Regions from separate parts of the Homo sapiens genome. Here region 1 is linked to region 2. The links are contacts of gene promoters, found by promoter capture Hi-C in blood cells and fetal thymus (Javierre and others, 2016). All regions are on one chromosome and are shown on one strand. The core of a region is centred on a gene start or on the middle of the fragment in contact, and the rest is flanking DNA. Distances in the headings are between cores, read along the strand shown. Region 1 overlaps DET1 (DET1 partner of COP1 E3 ubiquitin ligase). Region 2 holds the start of ABHD2 (abhydrolase domain containing 2, acylglycerol lipase).

Region 1 (3,321 bases), core at 1-2,500, 560 kb before region 2:
GCTCACCATTGGCCGCAACATTGGTAATGTGCAGCAGGACAAAAAAGCGTTCAAAGAGCCGGCCCCGGATATTCACTGACCGCTGGTCATTGCCATTGGACAGGATTTCTCCTTCGTATCCCTGCAGTAGGTCCTCTGCTGCCTGGCAGCCCTGGTACTCATAGATTTCAAGAGATGTCTGGTCTGAAGAAAAAGCAATAAAGTAGCGTCCATCAGGTGAGAATTTACGCAAGAAACAAGGAGGCTTTTCAACGTTGACAACTGTGAAGTTGGGGAAGACATTCTGATGGAACACTCGGACTTGGTGCCAGTGGGTACCTGCCTTGCCTGAACTGATCCGCCGGCGTTCCAAGCGGTGAATGACATTTTGGTTTTGGATTCTTCGAGGCTTGATGGTAGAAACATGATGATCCATTATCACATCTCTAAACAGAAAAGTAAAGCAGAAGTCAAGAAAGTGAAACAGAATTTACCAAAATATAAATATATACAAGTGAAACAGATTTCTCTTCTTATATCCTGAACCTAGGAGCTCCCAAGATGACAGTGACTGGCATTACTACTTCCCAGATTATACTGAGTAAGTGGTCCTAACATTTCTAAGTCTAGAAACAGGTCTAAGGGAAGGATCTAGTTCACTAGGAATACCTTCCAAGTATGCTCAGCTGTTGGGAAAGTTCAACAGAAAAAAACCTACAACTACAAATTTGAACAGTATAAGACACATTCGGCTGGGCGCAGTGGCTCACACCTGTAATCCCAACACTTTGGGAGGCCGAAGCAAGTGGATCACCTGAGCTCACTAGTTCAAGCCCAGCCTGGAAAACATGGCAAAACCCTGTCTCTACAAAAAAATATAAAAATTAGCTAGGCATGGTGGCACATGACTGTAGTTCCAGCTACTTGAGAGGCTGAAGTGGAAGGATTGTTTAAGCTTGGATCATCGAAGCTGCAATAAGCCGTGGTCACAACACTGCACTCCAGCCTGGGCAACAGAGTGAGACTCTATCTCAAACAAACAAACAAAAAAATCATATTCAATGTGCATTCATTCCAGCAAAAAATATTTATTGGGCTGTTAAGATATCCATATTACCCAAAATAATCTACAGATTCAATACAAACCCTATCAAAATCCTAATAGCACTTTTCACAAAGATAAAAAATTCATCCTAAAATTCATATGGTATCTCAAGGGCCTCCAAATACACAAAATAATTTTGAAAAAGAACAAAGAGGATTCAAGCCTCTTGATTTCAAAATATATTACAAACCACAGTAATCAAAAAATTGTGGTACTGGATAAAGACAGACACAGACCAATGAAATGGCCCACAGATAAACTCTGGCATATATGGTTAAACAATCTTTGATAAGGTCCTACTACTACTCAATAGAAAAAGGACAGTCACTTCAACAAATGGTGTTGGGAAAACTGAATAGCCACATGCAAAAGAATGAAGTCAGACCCTATCTTACACCCTATACAAAAATTAACCCAAAATAGGAAAAGAATCTAAATATAAGACCCATAACTATAAAACTACTAGAAGAAAATACAGGAGGAAAGCTTCATGACATCAGATCTGGCAGTGATTTCTTGGATAAGACACAAAAGGCATAGGCGACCAAGACAAAAATAGACAAATGGGAATACATCAAACTTAAAACTTCTGTGATCAAAGGACACAATCAACCGAGTGAAAGGGCTTTCTACAGAATGGAAGAAAATATTTGCAAATCATATATTGGATAAAGGGTTAATATCTAGAACATATAAAGAACTCCTATAACTCAATAACAAAAAATCATATACCCAATTTTAAAATGGTCAAAGTACTGGAACAGACATTTCTCCTATACAAATGGCCACAAAGCATATGAAAAGATAGATGCTCAACATCACTAATCATCAGAGAAATGTAAATCAAAACTACAATGGGATATCACCTCACACCCATTAGAACGACTGCTTTTTTTAAAAAAAGAAAATGACAAGTTTCATTGAGGACATAGAGGAAGTTGAACCCTTGTGCATTGTTGGTGGAACTGAAAAATAGTACAGCTACTAAGGAAAACAGTATGAAGGTTCCTTGAAGAAAATTAGAACTACCATAAGATCCAACAATTCTACTTCTGGGTATAAATCCAAAATAACTGAAAGCAGGATTTCTAAGAGATATTTGCACACCCATGTTCATATCAGCGCTATTCATAGTAGTCAAGAGATGGAAGCAACCCAAAAGTTCACTGATGGATGAGTGGATAAACAAAATATGGTATATACACACAAAGGAATATTACTCGGCCTTCAAAAGGAAGAAAATTCTGACATATGCTACATCACTGAAACTTGAGGACATTATGTGAAGTCAAATAAGCCAATCACAAACAGACAAATACTGTATGATTCCACTTAAATGAAGTATCAAACGTAATCAAATTTAACAGCCAGGTGCCATAGCACACACCTGTAATCCCAGCTACTTGGGAGGCTGAGGTGGACCACTTGAGCCCAGGAGTTTGAGTCTAGCTTGGGCAACAGAGCAAGACCCAATCTCTAAAAAAAAAAAAAAAAAAAAAAAATTAATGTAAAATACTTATCATTAAAAAAAGAAAAAGGAATCAAATTCACAGAAACAAAGAAGAATGGTGGTCACCAGGGACTAGCAGGAGGGGAAAGAGAAGGTGCTGTTGAATGGGTTAGACTTTTCAGATTTTCAAGATGAAAAACTTCTCGAGATCAATTTCACAATGTGAATATACTTAATACTACTGAACTGTACACTTACAATCAGTTAAGACGGTAAATGTTAGGCTATTTTAAAATCACAATAAAAATATGTTTTAATATTTATGGGGCATCTATTATATGGCAAAGTCTTCTAATTGTTTTATTATACCTTGATTCAAATCAAAGTTAAATCACAGGCCATAAAAGTCAACGGCATTTAGTGAAAAACTTAAGTTATAAAGCTGTTGCCAGATAAGATGGAATAATCAAACACCACCTTCTCTCTCCCACTAAAAATGCAGCTATAAAACCTAGACAGAATGCATAAGACAGGCATATGAGAAAAACCAATTGGCTAACAATAAAGTACCACTGAATGGGCAGTGAGGTTAACATTGTCTCCCCTGGTTCTCCTGCTGCTTGAAGAGCAAGTGTGTTGCAAGGAAGGATAATTAAAGCCCCAATTTTGTCATCAGAGGATCAAAAGGGAGACCCCAGTGGAACCAGAAGGTACTGGGGAGATATCAGATGGGGAGGAGCTCAGAAAAGTAACATCATGAAGTTGTTCATGAACTCCCAAGCTGCAC
Region 2 (3,260 bases), core at 160-2,659:
GACACAAAGGGTCTGGGGCTACATTCAGGCCTGAGAAGCTATTTCTGTCCACACTCTGTGATGTCTACACCTTCAGAATGGGGAATGGGTTTCAGGGGTCTCTGACAGATAGAGCTCATGCAATGATTTCTGGTCCGGTGCTGATCAGCCTTCAAAGGATGTTATTTGGTTACGCTCCATAAAACTTGAGCCAGCCCACTGTTCCTTGTCACAACCTGAAATATGTTGGGAAAAATTTACATGGTAACAAATGCCACTTCCCTTCTCTGACTAAATCGCTCCTCTCATTTCATCCCCTGCTCCCTCTCTCCGAGCCCTATGGGGCCTTGGTAGGGTGGCCTTGTCTGCCCTACAGGGGTTGCATTTCAAGTCGCTCAAGTGTTCTATTCTTGGTACACGACATGCCATTGCAAAAGCAGTTTCAGGCTCATAGAATTTTAGAAATGGGCCTAGTTTCCCAGCCGGATGAGGTGAGTGGGTGATGGGGGAAGAATCAGCCTTGATTGAATGCCTGTTGAGTGCCAGCCACTGTTGGCATTTATCAGAGTTTATTTAATCTTCTCATCAACTACTATTGTTACCCTCAGTTGCCAAGTGAAGGGAGCATGCGGGAAGGTTAAGTGACTTGCCCAAGCCCACACAACCGGTAGGAGCCCCAATTCCAGGCCCTAGTTCCAAGGCTACATTCTTCCAGGCGGCCTCCAACTGGGTTGGTTAAGGGTTGAAAGGACAGTGGGACAATAACTGAGGCCCGTATTGCCCAGAGCGTCCCCATCCCCCGTCCGGAGCTGGAAGAGGCCATAGACCGCTGCCTCCACATCTTTTCCTCTCCTTCGGGTTCGGTGACTCACGACCCTTCTTCCTCTCTCCCGGGATATGACCTCAAATTTCACCCCTGCGAAATTTGAGTACACGTGAGTCAGTCAGTCGGCCTGGACCCATAAGAGCCCCAGCTGAGCTACCAGCAGCTGAGCTACCAGCCGACCTCATTCCTCTGAGCCCAGTCGACAGCTGACCTTACCCAGCCCTCTAAAGCAGTTTGCGGTCACAATTACCCGTCTCTTCACCCCGCCCCCATCGACATCAAACACGACCCACCTTCTAGCCCTCCTCCCCTTTCCCCGCCCACTCCGGGCTGGCCTTATCCAGTAGCGTCTGGGTCCCTGGACTAAAGCCGTCAAATGTAACCAATTGCTGAGGAGCTCTCCCCTAAGAATCCCGCCTCCACTCTGAGGAACAGCTTCGCTGATCAATGGATCCCCTCCTAGACGCAATGAGCGCGCGGGGCAAGTGGAGAAGCGGCTGAACTGCCCAATGAACAAGCGGTTTCCGTGGTTAGGGGCGTGGCAGAAGCGGTCGTCAGGGGCGTGGCGGCAGTTACTTGGGCGGGGCCGGTAGCGGCGGGAGCTGCACTGGCCAGGGGTTCCGGCTGTATATCCATGAGCGCCGCTGGCAGCCGGGGAGCTGCAGGAACCAGACTGGGGGCGAGCTGAGCACCTGTAGTCAATCACACGCAGGTAAAGCCACGGCCGAGCGAGCTCCGCGGAGCGGGGATCGCACCCCGGACCCGTCGAACCGAATCTCCGAGCCCCGAGGTCCCCGGCGTAGCTCGGCCCATCACGCCGCAGCCTGAGGGGATCCTGGGGGGCCTGTCATCTGGCGCCGTGGGGGTCCCAGGGGCTGGCTTGCCCAGTGGTGGGGACAGCCCAGATCGCGGCGGGGGATACGCCTTCCTGAGGCCCTTTGTCCCCTTCTGCCCGAGGAACCGAGGTTGGGGACAACCCCGACCGCGGCCTTTCCCCCATTGGTGCTCACTCCTGGGTCTTCAGGGGCCTGGGGAGGGGTCTGCCGGTTCAGGCTCGGCGAAGAAGGTCCGGGATCCGCACCTGGAAGGAGAGGGCCGAGGGGCCTGATTACAGCCCGAGATACCCGAGAGGCCTCTGTGTTTCGGGGCTCCAGGGGCTCACGCAGGACCAGTGGGTTTAAGTTCTAGAAAGGCAGCTTTTGACCCACTTGGAAGCACATTTACCGAGTTCGGCCCCGCGACCGGCACTGTTCTAGGCCCTTCGTGAGCTTTTCCCACAGCTAGAGCTGTCCAGCAGCGCAGGAGGCTGCCTGCCAGGCCGGGCAGCTAGCGCCTCGACCTTGGCGATGTCCAAGCAGTGGCCTGATGACAGCCACCTGTGTCGGATGCTTAGGACTCCCAAGGGAGGACTGCATGACCCATCTGTAAGGGCCTTCTCTACCCACAAATGCACTCTAAGTGGCCTTTGATGCCTAGCTTGAGAAGAGTACTTCTGGGGGTCCATTAGGTTCCAAGTGGCTGTTGAATTCACCCATAATGAATTTTGAGGTTTCAGCTCTCAAGAGTGGGTGTTAGCAAAGAGACTGGATTATACAAAAAGATAGAGGTTTATTTAGCCACTGTGAAACTCCTTGTATTTGAACTACCATGGACCGCTCTCTTAATCTTCCCAATCTCTCTTTTTTGGTTGCTGGACCTCCAGTTTGTCAGTTTCACCTGCATTCCAGTAACCAAATCCAAAGGCATGTTCCAAGAACAGGCTCCACAGAGGGACCTGGAGAGACTGCAGGTTTGGCAGAGTCAACAAGATCTGTGCCCAGAGCTTTTCGAAGGCCGTTTCCTTACAGCCACATTAAGCAGAGTCCAAAAGAGAAATCCTTCACTACCCTCTGTCATTTGCCGGAATAGAGAGAACATAATAATCTAAAGGTCAGGAGGCAGAGAAAGAATCTTAACACACCTTGCTGTGTGTTTTAGGATGAATTAATCTTTGAACATCTAGTCAGAAAGCAGTCCATATACAGCTGGTAGTCAGCACGGACTGTGACATTTTAGAGCTGAAGGCACCTTAGATAGAGCTCATCTCTATCTAAGTCTAATTAGGTGGACTCTCATTCAGTCTCCTCAATGCACAGGTGAGGAAACTGAGGCCTGGGGTGGTCACAGGGCTGGTTGGTCATCACAGGCCCATGACTAAGGGTTGATCTCTTGACTGTATTTAGATCTAGCCAGTGCATGACTTATTTCACTCCAAGCTTAGTTTGCCCATTCTCAGTGTTTTAAGTTCTAGGGGAGTCCAGAGAGGTTAGGAGGACAGATTTTGGTGCCTGAGTGCCTGGATTTGAATCCCAGCCCTGCCTCTTACTGGCTGTACAACCTTGGGCAAGCTACTTAACTTCTCTGTGCCTCTGTTTCCTCACCTCTAAAACAGAAATAATAATGATACTTATGTTAG

The links. The method cuts DNA at HindIII sites, captures the fragments that hold promoters and counts their contacts. A CHiCAGO score of 5 or more calls a contact.
Region 1: a contact is called between a fragment that was not itself captured here and the fragment with the promoter of ABHD2 in region 2, in 1 of 17 cell types (total B cells). The highest score is 5.7, in total B cells.

What each region holds. Positions count from the first base shown.
Region 1 is chr15:88,531,291-88,534,611 of GRCh38, forward strand. DET1 (DET1 partner of COP1 E3 ubiquitin ligase) reads right to left here. Exons shown (of 5, transcript NM_001144074.3): 2 at 1-425. The coding sequence starts at 415. Among named protein-coding and RNA genes, the nearest start is that of DET1, 14 kb to the right of the region's middle. The HindIII fragment of the contact is 636 bases long and covers 933-1,568 here.
Region 2 is chr15:89,087,047-89,090,306 of GRCh38, forward strand. It overlaps ABHD2 (abhydrolase domain containing 2, acylglycerol lipase), which reads left to right and starts at 1,410. Exons shown (of 11, transcript NM_152924.5): 1 at 1,410-1,517. LOC124903573 reads right to left here. Exons shown (of 7, transcript XM_047433432.1): 5 at 1,789-1,886; 6 at 1,022-1,640; 7 at 515-895. The coding sequence ends at 681. RefSeq lists enhancers at 173-818, 1,429-1,608, 1,550-2,069. The HindIII fragment of the contact is 11,698 bases long and covers 1-3,058 here.